Linked DNA regions of Homo sapiens: region 2 is linked to region 1. Evidence: promoter capture Hi-C in human tissues and cell types (Jung and others, 2019). All regions are on one chromosome and are shown on one strand. The core of a region is centred on a gene start or on the middle of the fragment in contact, and the rest is flanking DNA. Distances in the headings are between cores, read along the strand shown. Region 1 holds the start of SBDS (SBDS ribosome maturation factor). Region 2 has its middle 42 kb from the start of KCTD7.

Region 1 (2,700 bases), core at 201-2,700:
AAACGTTTACCTCCCCTGCCGCCCCAGGGTCCTTGCCCGCCGAGTGCCCTTACCCATCCTCCTCAGAGCCGACAGGAGACTAGGATCTCGGACCTGGATAGCCCGATGATTCGCACTGGTACCGCGAGACGCACCGAGCTACCTCGCCGCGTTAGCGGCGTACCGAGTGCCTGCAGACCTGTGGGCAGCCATGACACTGCCAGGCCGGTCCTGATTGGTTCAGAGGACGAAGAGGTGGGCCCAGAGGAAAGCCCAGAGCTCCGGGAAAGGAAGCCAGTGCCCGGTGCGCTCTCGGCCCTGCTCCGATTGGCTCAGAGGGGAAAGGGGGCGTGCCCAGAAATAAGCACCTCCCAGAGTTCCAGGCGATGAAGGCGGAGCGCTTCCGCCTCCATTTGGATTGGCTCAGACTGGGAAAAGGCGGGCCCAGAGAGAAATGATTGGCATGGGAAAATTAAAAGAGGAAAGGAGCGGGGAGCGGGGGAAATGCTATGTGGGCCTGTTTGGATCTTAACTGAAATAAACCGACTGTAGAAAGGCATTATTTTTGGGAAACCCGAGGATGGACTCGCTATTAGATGATATTAAGGAATTGTAGTTAATCTCGTCGCGTGTATCTGTTAAGGGCTATAGGCTGAAGTATTTAATGCTGAAACCATATGATGGTTTCTTTAAAATACCCCCAACCGGCCGGGCGCTGTGACTCAAACCTGTAATCCCAGCACTTGGGAAGCCGAAGCGGGAGGATCGCTTGAGCCCAGGAGTTCGAGACCAGCCTGAGCAACATAGTGAGACCTCGTCTGTACAAAAAATTTTTTTTAATTATTTATTTAATTAAATTAGCTTGGCGTGGCCGCTCACACCTGTAGTCCCAGCTACTTGGGAAGCTAACGCTGGAAGATCGCTCGAACCCAGGAGGTCGAAGCTGCAGTGGGGCCATGACCCTGCCACTGCACTCCAGCCTGGGTGACAGAGTGAGACTGACTTAAAAAAAAAACTGTAAATAAAAAAGCAACAAAAAAATGAAAAAAGAATAAAACAAGGATGGCAAAATGTTGATAGCGGGGTGATGGGTACATAGAAGGTTCATTACACTTTTTTGTCTACATTTTATGTTAAAATATTTCTATTATAAAAGGGTGAGTAAATAAAAATATTTATTATAAAATAATTCTATTATAAAAAATATTTATATTATAAAGTGGGTCTGGCCCTTGAATTCCGCGGAACGAGGTGGTGCCAACGCTGTGTTTTAACCCGGTCACTAAACATCCGCGAGCATCCTGTCAGAGCTCTCAGCTCATTGGCGAAAGTAAATACGCCAAGGAAAAGCACCTCCCTTTTTGGGCGTGGAAAGATGGCGTAAAAAGCCACAATACGCAGGCGTCATCGCTCACTTTTCCCCTCCCGGCTTCTGCTCCACCTGACGCCTGCGCAGTAAGTAAGCCTGCCAGACACACTGTGACGGCTGCCTGAAGCTAGTGAGTCGCGGCGCCGCGCACTGGTGGTTGGGTCAGTGCCGCGCGCCGATCGGTCGTTACCGCGAGGCGCTGGTGGCCTTCAGGCTGGACGGCGCGGGTCAGCCCTGGTTCGCCGGCTTCTGGGTCTTTGAACAGCCGCGATGTCGATCTTCACCCCCACCAACCAGATCCGCCTAACCAATGTGGCCGTGGTACGGATGAAGCGTGCCGGGAAGCGCTTCGAAATCGCCTGCTACAAAAACAAGGTCGTCGGCTGGCGGAGCGGCGTGTGAGTAGCCCCCTCCCTCGGGCCTGGGCCTGGGCCTGAGCCGTCACCTCCGAGGCGGCCTGTCTCTGCCCAAGTCGAGTGAATGGGCCAGGCTGGGGTGTTGGCCGGGGAGGAAATGGAACATTCCTGCTGTGAGCATGAGACGTCGCTGTCCGAGCTTGGCGCCTAAGCCAAGGGTTTCTTCTTTATTTGGTTGGTTCGGATTGGGTTGTTGGTTTGGGGTTTTGTTTTGTTGGTGTCATAAAAGCTGCAGCCAAGAAATCTCGTAATTGTGGTCCTTTTCCTAGAATAATGATGGCTGAGAACCTAGTCTTACGAATACTGTCATAGTTGTGGGTACATCTGGTGTCATAGATCTCAGTAGCCCTAGCAGTTTAAAGTGCGTAGTGTCTTCACTGCTGCCATCTAGGGACTGGCATTCCGTGGCAGCAGCTGTCTGCACCCCACCCCACCCTTGTGTTTCTTACGTCCTCCCATGACATTTTTCTCCAGTGAGCAAATGGTAAGGCAAATACGGTTCTGAGTTTTGAAAATGTTCCCTCAGGCCGATGCGGGCAGTTCACTTGAGGCCAGGAGTTCGAGGCCAGCCTGGCCAACATGAAACCCCATCTCTACTAAAAATACAAAGTTAGCCGGGTGTGGTGGCGCATGCCTGTAATCCCAGTTACTCAGGAGGCTGAGGCGGGAGAATCACTTGAACCCGGGAGGCTGAGGTTACAGTGACCCGAGATCGCGCCATTGCACTCCAGCCTGGGCAAAAACAGTGAAATTCCATCTAGGGGCGGGGGTTGGGGGGTAAGAAAAAGAAAACTGCCCTCTACACTAAAGGTCATCAGGGGGATTTGTTGTGTCTTGCCGTTCATGTTGTTGCCATCTCGTATTTAAATGTAAATGCATGTCCAAGTTTCAAGTATATTCACATAGGACTTTCTCTCCTGCCCTCACAAGGGAAAA
Region 2 (3,111 bases), core at 592-3,091, 410 kb after region 1:
GCCAGGCTGGTCTTGATCTCCTGACCTTGTGATCCACCTGCCTCTGCTTCCTGAAGTGCTGGGATTACAGGCATGAGCCAACTCGCCAGGCCATTTTTTTTTTGAGACGGAGTCTCGCTCCATCGCCCAAGCTGGAGTGCAGTGGCACGATCTCATCTCACTGCAACCTCTGTCTCCTGGGTTCAAGCGATTCTCCTGCCTCAGCCTCCCATGTAGCTGGGACTACTTGCACATGCCACCATGCCTGGCTAATTTTTTGTATTTTTAGTAGAGACTGGGTTTCACCATGTTAGCCAGGACAGTCTCCATCTCCTGATCTCGTGATCTGCCCACCTTGGCCTCCCAAAGTGCTGGGAGTACAGGTGTGAGCCACTGTACCAGGCCTTTGCCATCAGCTTTTAAAGGAAGTGGTCACTTAGAACTGTATCCTAGGTGGGCAGGTTTTTTCTTTCAGCTTTTTTTTTTTTTTTAAAGCCATCATACTTTAGATTGTTTCAGCACTGTCAAATTATCTTCTGGCTTTTATTATTTCTGTTTAGAATTTAAGCCAGGCATGGTGGCTCACACCTGTAATCCCAGCACTTTGGAAAGCCACAGCAGGCGGATCACATGAGCCCAGGAGTTGGAGACCAGCCTGGCCAACAGGGTGAGGCCCTGTAGCAGCATGTGGTAGCCCTTTTTCAGTACATTGGTCAGTCCAGCTCAGTTGGATGTCATTTACATATGTGTCTTATATTTTAGATACAAGAGATTTCTTAAAAGCTTAGAGCATAACACAGATATTTATTTGATTGCGCCATCTAACAAATCTGAATAAATACATTTCAGGTCTAGGCATTGCGTTTTGTATTTCTCTAAACTAGTGTGGGCGTGTGTGTATGTGTGTATCACTTTACCCAGCCACAGCAAGTGAGTATGGATGAAATGGCTGCAGCAAAGCTAAAACTATGATATGCCTTTCAGAAAAAAATTCTGAGCTGAGTGCATTGGCTCATTCCTGTAATTCCAGCACTTTGTGTGGCCAAGATGGGAGGATTGCTTGAGGCCAGGAGTTTGAGACCAGCCTGGGCAATATAGCTAGATCCTGTCTCTGTTGGCCAGGCGCGGTGGCTCACACCTGTAATCCCAGCACTTTGGGAGGCCAAGGCAGGTGGATCACAAGGTCAGGAGATCAAGACCATCCTGGTTAACATGGTGAAACCCCGTCTCTAATAAAAATACAAAAGATTAGCCAGGAATGGTGGCGGGTGCCTGTAGTCCCGGCTGCTCTGGAGGCTGAGGCAGGAGAATGGCATCAACCCAGAGGCAGAGCTTGGAGTAAGCCAAGATCGCGCCACTGTTCTCCAGCCTGGGCGACAGAGTGAGACTCAGTCTGGAAAAAAAAAAAAATTATCCAGGGTTGTTGGTGCACACGTGTAGTCCCAGCTACTTGGGAGGCTAAAGTGGGGAGGATCACTTGAGTCCGGGCAGTCATGGTTATGGTGAGCTGTGATAATGCCACTGCACTCTAGCCTGGGTTATAGAGCGAGACAATATGTCAAATAAAGAAAAGAAAAGAAACTTAAGAAAAGAAATGCCTTTAACAGAGACCATCTCATGTATTGCAGGTTGCTGTTACTTTAGGTGGAGTTAAGATAAATAATTTTTGGTTAGTGACTTAGTGAATAAATTGACCATATGTGCTACTTCCCTGGGCGAGGGCATAGAGAATGGTACAAAGTAGGCTGCAGTAGCCAGATTATCTTGTATGTAATTTTGAGCTGTTAGTCTGGAGAAGGGCATGCTCAGATTAGAGTTACAATTTTGCTTAACCAAGGAGGGTGTGATCTAGTGCAATAGAAGATTGTTGTCTAGAACTCATTCCTTGAGAATGCTCCCCTGCTTGCTCTGCTCATTCCAGCAGCAATCAACTCTACATTGTATTCTAGGGAGTTGATTATCATTTGGAATTATTTTCCAAGGCTAATGTTTGGACAAATAATGTTTTGTTATATTTAACATTAAAACTCTGACATTGACATTCACATTGATTTTGGAAGCATTATACTTAATCATATGAAAGTTGGTGAAACTTGGATTACAGATTGCAGATGCTAATAAGTCTTTTATTAGAATGATGGCGTCTTCATACCATGAAGTTGAGGACTGAAAGATATATGAGAAGAGTACCTATAAATCGAAAGAAAATAGTAATGACATAGAAAAATGAGCAAAATCAGTTAATTTCTTCAAAGAAAATATATTAATGACAATAAATATCTGCAAAGATGGCTAACCTTAGGGAAATGCACGTTAAATGGTTTTTTTTGTTTGCCTGTCAGATTGACAAATTAAAGTTCAATAATGTTATGCTTATGAGGTTATGGGAAACCAGATTCTCATACACTGTAGGTGGGAATGTAAATAGTATATTTTGTCAGACCAGTTTGGTATATGTCAAAATTTTAAATGCACATACCCTTTGGCATTCCGTTTCTGTTTCTAGCAAACTGTTCGATTTATTTTTAATTACATTTGTATCCCAAGTGCCTGTCCCAAGTGCCTGTGTCCCAAGTGGCTGTCGTACAGTAATCAATCAGTGTATAAATATTTGGTGAATGAGTGCAGAGGGAACACTATAGGAATATGTACTACATATAGTAACTGTCTCTGGATGATGATTAACACATTTTTTTTCTACTTGTCTATATATTATCAGGTTTTGTAAATAATGAGTATTCTTTACTTTTCTAACTGGAAAAAAAAATTTAAGGGAAAAAAATCACCCATAAGTTTTATTCCTTAACTGAGGTCAATGGATAGCTTATCGTTTTACTAGAATTGATTGGGTGTTTCCTGTAAGTCCCAGATGAGTTGCCTGGAGATAGGAGTGACCTGTGAGGGCATGACATTGAACCCAGGAATAGGAAGCAGGGCCCGCTCAAGGATAGAGGGAAAATACTCACATCTGCAAAGTGTTTTCGTTTTGCTTTTCTGAGATGAAACTGGTTTGCATCCAGAGCCTTAAGAAAGAACACTAATAGTTCTGTGAGCTTTGTAAGTATGCTTTGTACCTGTCTGTCCTTTTTAGAGTACATGGACCCAGAATAAATCCCAGCCCTGGGGCATAAT

Evidence for each region. Contacts are between HindIII fragments. The study calls those that stand out against the background at their distance.
Region 2: a contact is called between a fragment that was not itself captured here and the fragment with the promoter of SBDS in region 1, in 1 of the 25 tissues and cell types used here (lymphoblastoid cells).

The regions. Positions count from the first base shown.
Region 1 is chr7:66,994,336-66,997,035 of GRCh38, reverse strand. SBDS (SBDS ribosome maturation factor) reads left to right here and starts at 1,450. Exons shown (of 5, transcript NM_016038.4): 1 at 1,450-1,746; 2 at 2,695-2,700. The coding sequence starts at 1,619. It overlaps TYW1 (tRNA-yW synthesizing protein 1 homolog), which reads right to left and starts at 203. Exons shown (of 16, transcript NM_018264.4): 1 at 54-203. The coding sequence starts at 57. RefSeq lists a silencer at 333-452 and an enhancer at 2,017-2,066. The HindIII fragment of the contact is 8,933 bases long and covers 1-2,700 here.
Region 2 is chr7:66,584,999-66,588,109 of GRCh38, reverse strand. It overlaps the pseudogene RABGEF1P1. Among named protein-coding and RNA genes, the nearest start is that of KCTD7, 42 kb to the left of the region's middle. The HindIII fragment of the contact is 7,682 bases long and covers 1-3,111 here.